2 separate regions of the Homo sapiens genome follow, and region 1 is linked to region 2. Evidence: promoter capture Hi-C in human tissues and cell types (Jung and others, 2019). All regions are on one chromosome and are shown on one strand. The core of a region is centred on a gene start or on the middle of the fragment in contact, and the rest is flanking DNA. Distances in the headings are between cores, read along the strand shown. Region 1 has its middle 75 kb from the start of DNAJA2-DT. Region 2 holds the start of VPS35 (VPS35 retromer complex component).

Region 1 (3,050 bases), core at 509-3,008, 360 kb after region 2:
TGCACAGTGCTGATGCTGGGCTTGCCCAGTGACCACCGCCCTCAAGGAGCTGGGGCTGGAGTAGTAGAGGATGGGGGAGGAAGAAAATGTCCCTAATTTGCAATGACAGGCTTCTAATCTATAAATAGCTTTCGGAAATAGAGCAGAGAGAGAGAAAGAGAAGTCATTTGCAGGCTTACATTCAATTCAACAGCAGCCTTTTTCTTCCTTCTGAGACAAGCTATTTGAGTCTATTCAAACTGAAAAAAACAAAAACCACTTTGAATGACCAAATAATCTATTCAGCCATCTTGATGCCTCTCCCAGCTGGGAATTCACATTTTAGGCAGCCTTTGTCCCAGGGGTGGGTGAAGGCAGGTGAGTTCTGAGTGTGGAGGTGGAACAGTGAATACCCAGGCCCCTTTCCACCCCTCTCTCCAAGAAGTGTACCTGCAAACTCCTCAGCACCAGCCGCCACCATGGGAGAAATTCATTAGCAGATCTGGTTTTGCATAATTTAGTAGCTAGCATTCACAAATTAAGTCTGCTGGCTCCCCTCGTGGTAATGGCCTTTAGAGAGATGTGAGAAAACACAGGCTTGTAATCCCAGCAGTTTTCTGGAGCTGATAATTAATAACAACAATAAACTGCTAATAAGACACATCAGTTTTTCCTTCCACTCATGTCTTCTTGCTTGTTCCTCACCACTGCAGAAGAGGAAAGCAGATCTGATGTCCTCCATCTGATAGGCAAGGGAACTGAGATCTGGGGAGGTGTTCCCAGCTGGGGAGGAGGCTGTTCTGGAATCTGCCTCTTCAGCCGGCCTGGGGAGGGTCCTGGTGCCCTCTGAGCTCAGGGCCATGGCCCACTCAGGAGGCCACTGGGGGACCATGGGAGAAGCAGGGCTCGGGAGCACTAAGCCTCTACCCACAGTCTGCATAGCAGGAACCTCAGTCCTTGCTGGAGTCCTTGGCAGAGCAAGTCCTTCGATTAGCAACACCATCAACAGCTGCAATAATCCAAAGCTAATCTTTGTCAAGTCCTTTCAGCCACCAAACACTCTTTCTGCATGCACCATCTCATCAATAACACACAGTTGCCCATGAAGAAGGTACCTATCACCTTTTTGCTTTGTTTTGTTTTGTTTTGAGACAGTGTCTTGCTCTGTCACCCAGGCTGGAGCGCAGTGCTGCAATCAAGGCTCACTGCAGCCTCAAACTCCTGGGTTCAAGCGATTCTTGCACCGCAACCTCCTGAGTAGCTGGGACTACAAGCGGCACCACATGCCCAACTAATTATTTTTTGTATTTTTGTGGAGATGGAATCTCACTATGTTGCCAGGCTTGTCTCAAACTCTTGGCCTCAAGCAATCCTCCTTCCTCTGCTCCCCAGAGCACTGGGATTATAGTCGTGAGCCACTGAGCTGGCCAAATATCACTTCAATTCACTGGTGAGGAAATGAAGGCTCAGAGAGGCTCCAACAGACCCCAGTTGGAGTGGCTTCCTGGTCCCCAGAGCGTCTCCTTCTCTGGGATCGATCTGGATGCAGGTAAGCCTGGCGGGTCTGCTTCTGACATATGGCCTTGTCCCCTTGCCAAAGCTGATTGGGCCAGGAATGGGCTACTGGTCTCTGTTTGGCCAACCACAGCCTCTGTCTGGGATGCGTTAGGCTGGTGCTAAGGCAAGGGAGGCAATATCCCTCTGGCGATGGCTGGAGCCATGGCAGCCCTGCTCTTCCCCTGCACAGGAGGCCAGGCAGCAGCAGGAAGGCAGCTTCAGAGATGGGGAGCGCAGGGACAGGCAGCATCCTGTGGTGTTTGAGTCCTTTATTCCAGTTGTCCCTGAGGCACCCCAGTGGTGACCAGCCCCGGTATCCTCTGAATAAGCCCCCTTTACTTGAGTTGGTTGGATTCAGGTCTCTGTCTCTTGAAACCATGAGTTGTAACCTAGGACCTTGGCTGGGGTCCCTGGGAAGCATGACGTGGCAGGGACTGGAGTCTTGTCCCCTCTCCACCAAGGCTTCCAGGGCCTCCCGGGACTCTCCTCCTTGTGGGTCTCTGCAGGGATTGCGGCAGCCAGGGAAGGCCCCTGGTTCTCAATGCCCGCTGCAGAGGAGCCCCAGTGAAGGGCAAATAGTACTGAGACTACACCCTCTCTGAACCCCCAAATCACAGCACCAGTGTGGCACAGGGCTTATTCATGCCACCCCTGTGTTCTGGGCAGGACTGCCCGAGCCAGCCATGTGGGGCCTTGATTTTTTGAGGGAGAGGAGTCCATGGTCACCTTGTGGTTGGCGGGGTTCGAGAGGCAAAGGTGTCCATGAAGTGGCCCCTGGCCTTTGCCCTGGGCAGGACTTGGAATCCCTGGAGGCTCTCACTCCAGGAATCAGGGTGGAGACATCCCCTGCCTTCTCCCCACTCACCCTGAGGGCCTCCCTAAGTGATCAGGAATCCAAAGTGTGCTTTCCATGATTTGTGTCTCCTCTCCATCCCCCAAATCCCTTGCAGAAAGGTTACAGGCTCCCACTGCGCCAAAGAATCCCCCAGCCCAGTGCATGGGCAGCTGCGCATGCAGGGCTATGGTTGGAGACCACGGCTCTGCCCACTGCTAGCCTTAGGACCTTTAGGCGCGTTCTTCAACCTCTGCATGTTTGAGGCTTCTAAATCCATCACAAAAAAAGACGACAGTAATAGCGAGTAACTGCCTTATGGAATGATTGTTAGGACTCAAAGACATATTACAAGTCAATTGCAGCACTCAGTGAGCTCAGTAAATGCTGGTTAGAGGCAGCAGGCCAACAGAGGGAAAGGGATTCGCCCAAGGTCCCACTGTAAGTCAGGACTCAGCTGGGACCAGAAGCCAGACCTCCTGGCCACTGGTTGATCTCCTCTAAAGACCCAGAAAGCACCGCACTCTCTCCCCCACGCCCACCCCAGCACCCACTCGAGCTGCCAAAGACTCGCAGAGGCATGTGGGATGCCCAGAACCAGGGCTTTATGTTTGGCAGCTGCCTTAGGAAGGGAATGCGCTGGGGAAGGGGCAATGGGTTTCTGTGGATTGGAATTTATAAA
Region 2 (3,040 bases), core at 154-2,653:
AAAGTGCGACACCAAGAAGACTAAGCGAGCTGCCTAAATTATAGACAGTGACTGTGAAAGAACGAATACTCAAGTTTCCTTTCCCAATAAAATTCATGAGGACAAGACTGTGTGTCTGGCTGATTGCTCCCAACTGGTTCACCCAACAAAGAATCGGAGTGTGTAATACATCCTCAATTAAGTGTTTTCCATTACAAAACAATATAAATGTCAATCCATAAACGCTGGAAACACACAAATCCTAAAGTTAAATTTTGCGCCGGTCTTGTATCAATTCCCAATTATAAAAATCCTGAGAAACAGGCAAAATCACCTTGTACGGCAACACGTTATATGAAAATAGTATTTGTAAAACACTTAATCCTTTCTGGCATTAAGACATTTAAAGTGAAATCTGTTTCCAGGCTTACAGATTTACAGAAGCCTATCTACACAGAGTGAGTAAGGTAATTAAAGCGGACATACAGTATATACTCAAAAAATTTATTTACACAGTGCAGGCTATGTTAAACGCTAATAAAATGCAAGTGACAACTTGCCTTTGTGGGAACCAGACACAAAGATTCACATTTTGAGGAAGTTCAAGTTTACCGGCCAACAGCCACACCACGATTTGCTGCCGTCATAGACGGGCCCTAAGGAGAAGTACTGCTTCCAGCAAGTCAAATACTTGGATTTTATCAATGGCGAGACAAAAGAGGCAAGGTGCGCCCAATGCACAAATGCTAAAGTAAACAATCAGTCTCCTTTGCGACCGTCAGGATTAGAAGACAGCCTGAGTCCTTCCAGGAAATTCATGTAAGCAGGTCCCCAGAACTCGCTGACAAACACTGCAGCCGAAGGCGGGTATGAGGCCAAGAAAGGCCAAGGAATCACTGCGACCCCTCCAGGAGGGCGTGGGGACGGCCGAGCACAACTAGGCACAAAGGTAGAAACGCAACATCTGGGCGGGTCCCGGCGCCACCTCCGAGTCTCAGGGCCTCCACGCGCCCCGGGGGCCAGACGCTCAGACCTAGGACTACCGGTCCCCTCGTGGTAGGCAGGTGACCGATTCCACTTAAAGGAGGCCGCAGGCCTTCATGGACCCCAAAGCCTACATGCCAAGTCAACCCCACAGAGAGGCCGCCCCGTCTCTCAGCAACGGCCGCAGCCAAGAGCCGCCGCCCACCCCGGCCCGGATCAGCCTGCCCGCGGCCTTCCTCCTGCTGTCCCCTATCCCGCAGGCCAAATCGGGCTGGTCTTAATCCCGAACGGTCTGTGGGGCCCCTTCTCCACTCGCTGGAGTGCGGGGCGGTGGGAGAGAGCAGGGGCTACAAGGAGGGTCGACCCAGGTGCCACTGCCCCCTCAGCACTCACCATGGCGACTCCCCAGAGCCTGCAGCAAGCAGCACCCGCCCCGCGCGTAGCCTCCCGCGGTCATGTGACGCTGCGGCCCCTCCAAGCCCCGCCCTCTCTAGCCCCGCCCCCGGGCCCTACAGGCGGCTCATTGATTGGCCTACTTCTAGGAACCCGAGTCTCGCGTGCTTATTGGCCCTGTCACTTAACGCTAGATGGACGGACCTGAGCGCCAGCCAATCTCACCACAGCGTGCGAGAGTGGGCGGAGCAGTGCAGGGCAGTGGGGATCGCCCGGCGGCAGGCAGGAGACAACAGGAGGGAAAGGCAGTGTGTGATGAGTTTGTCAAGAAGGAATGGAAGGAGGGGGAGCCGACAAGTCCACGTTCACCGCATCTGCGTTGGCGATTGCGCTATTGATGCGCATGCGCAAAAGGAAGACCCTGATTGGTTTGTGGGACGGTCTCAACGTCCTGTCCTAACCAATCCAGATGCGCCGGGGGTGGGGCCTGGCTCTCACTGGCCGGTGCAGCCTTTGCGCGCGGGTTTCGTTGACCCGCGGCGTTCACGGGAATTGTTCGCTTTAGTGCCGGCGCCATGGGGTCGGAGCTGATCGGGCGCCTAGCCCCGCGCCTGGGCCTCGCCGAGCCCGACATGCTGAGGTGAGTTCGGCCGCGCAAGACCAGGGCTGGGCTTCCGCCTCGCGGCCCTGGGCCCTCAGGTGAGGCCCGCGCCCTTCCCAGGCGACGGGCGGCGGGGGAGTGACGGGGAGCGCTGGGGCCGGGCGGGGTTTAGGGCCTACTTCAAGAAAAACTTCTCGGCCGTGAGCTTGAATGAGATGGCAAGAAGGGCGATAGCAAACGGCGATGGCACACGTCCCTGGGAACAGCCAGCCCTGTCCGTGGGTAGAAAAATGAGCCAGGGAGAACTTTCCGTTCATTCCGCCAACGCCTACTGCAGTCGGGTTTATAGCGGGGAACCCGACAACGAGGCGCAGACCCCGCTGTCTGTAAGGGCGAGGACTGTGTAGACCTTAACCGGGCAATGCTCCTGAGCCACTGGGCTTGGGGTGGAGCGCGGCCTAGCGGCTGCCTTTAACACAAAGAAACAAACAAAACTCGGAAAAGCAGGCGCCGTTCCCGCTGAGGCCGGATTGATGGCAGATGCTAGGCGAGGAAAGATATGGCAAGAGCAGCCCAGGCAGGGGCGACAGCTCCTGTAAAAGCGTTGAGATGGGAAGCGGGATCCGGGGTTCGAAATAAAGCCATTGTAGCTAAAACGTGGAGCAGTCAGGCGAGGGAAGGCAAGGAAAACAGCACTTAAAAGATTTGAAGACAAACCTGCAGGACTCGGTAGTCATTTAGAACAGTGGTTCTCAAAATGTGGTTCCTGGACCAGCAACAGCCATATCATCTTGTCACTTGTTAGAAATACAAATTCTTGGGTCCCACCTCAAGCCTGCTGATCAGTAACTCGGCCTGGGACCCAGTAATTTGCAAGTCCCCAAGGTGATTTTCGCCTACCATCAAGTTTAAGAACTACTGATTTAAAGGAAATAGGAGGAAAGGAGGAACCCTGGTCTAACCTGCCTGTCTCTGATAGTTCGTGCTTGTTCCAGTAATGGAAGGAGGAAAGAAGGGTAATTTTTTTGTCAAAATTTAACTTCCTTTTGCCTGAAAGCATTTGAGCACAGTGATGTTTGGAGT

Evidence for each region. The method cuts DNA at HindIII sites, captures the fragments that hold promoters and counts their contacts. A contact is called where the count stands out against the background at its distance.
Region 1: a fragment that was not itself captured here is called in contact with the fragment with the promoter of VPS35 in region 2 in 1 of the 25 tissues and cell types used here (lymphoblastoid cells).

The regions. Positions count from the first base shown.
Region 1 is chr16:47,047,141-47,050,190 of GRCh38, forward strand. No RefSeq gene overlaps it. Among named protein-coding and RNA genes, the nearest start is that of DNAJA2-DT, 75 kb to the left of the region's middle. The HindIII fragment of the contact is 9,133 bases long and covers 1-3,050 here.
Region 2 is chr16:46,687,775-46,690,814 of GRCh38, forward strand. VPS35 (VPS35 retromer complex component) reads right to left here and starts at 1,404. Exons shown (of 17, transcript NM_018206.6): 1 at 1,357-1,404. The coding sequence starts at 1,359. It overlaps ORC6 (origin recognition complex subunit 6), which reads left to right and starts at 1,885. Exons shown (of 7, transcript NM_014321.4): 1 at 1,885-1,996. The coding sequence starts at 1,932. RefSeq lists enhancers at 875-1,572, 1,573-2,271, 2,509-2,588, 2,639-2,708 and silencers at 1,109-1,158, 1,309-1,548, 1,869-2,168. The HindIII fragment of the contact is 11,418 bases long and covers 1-3,040 here.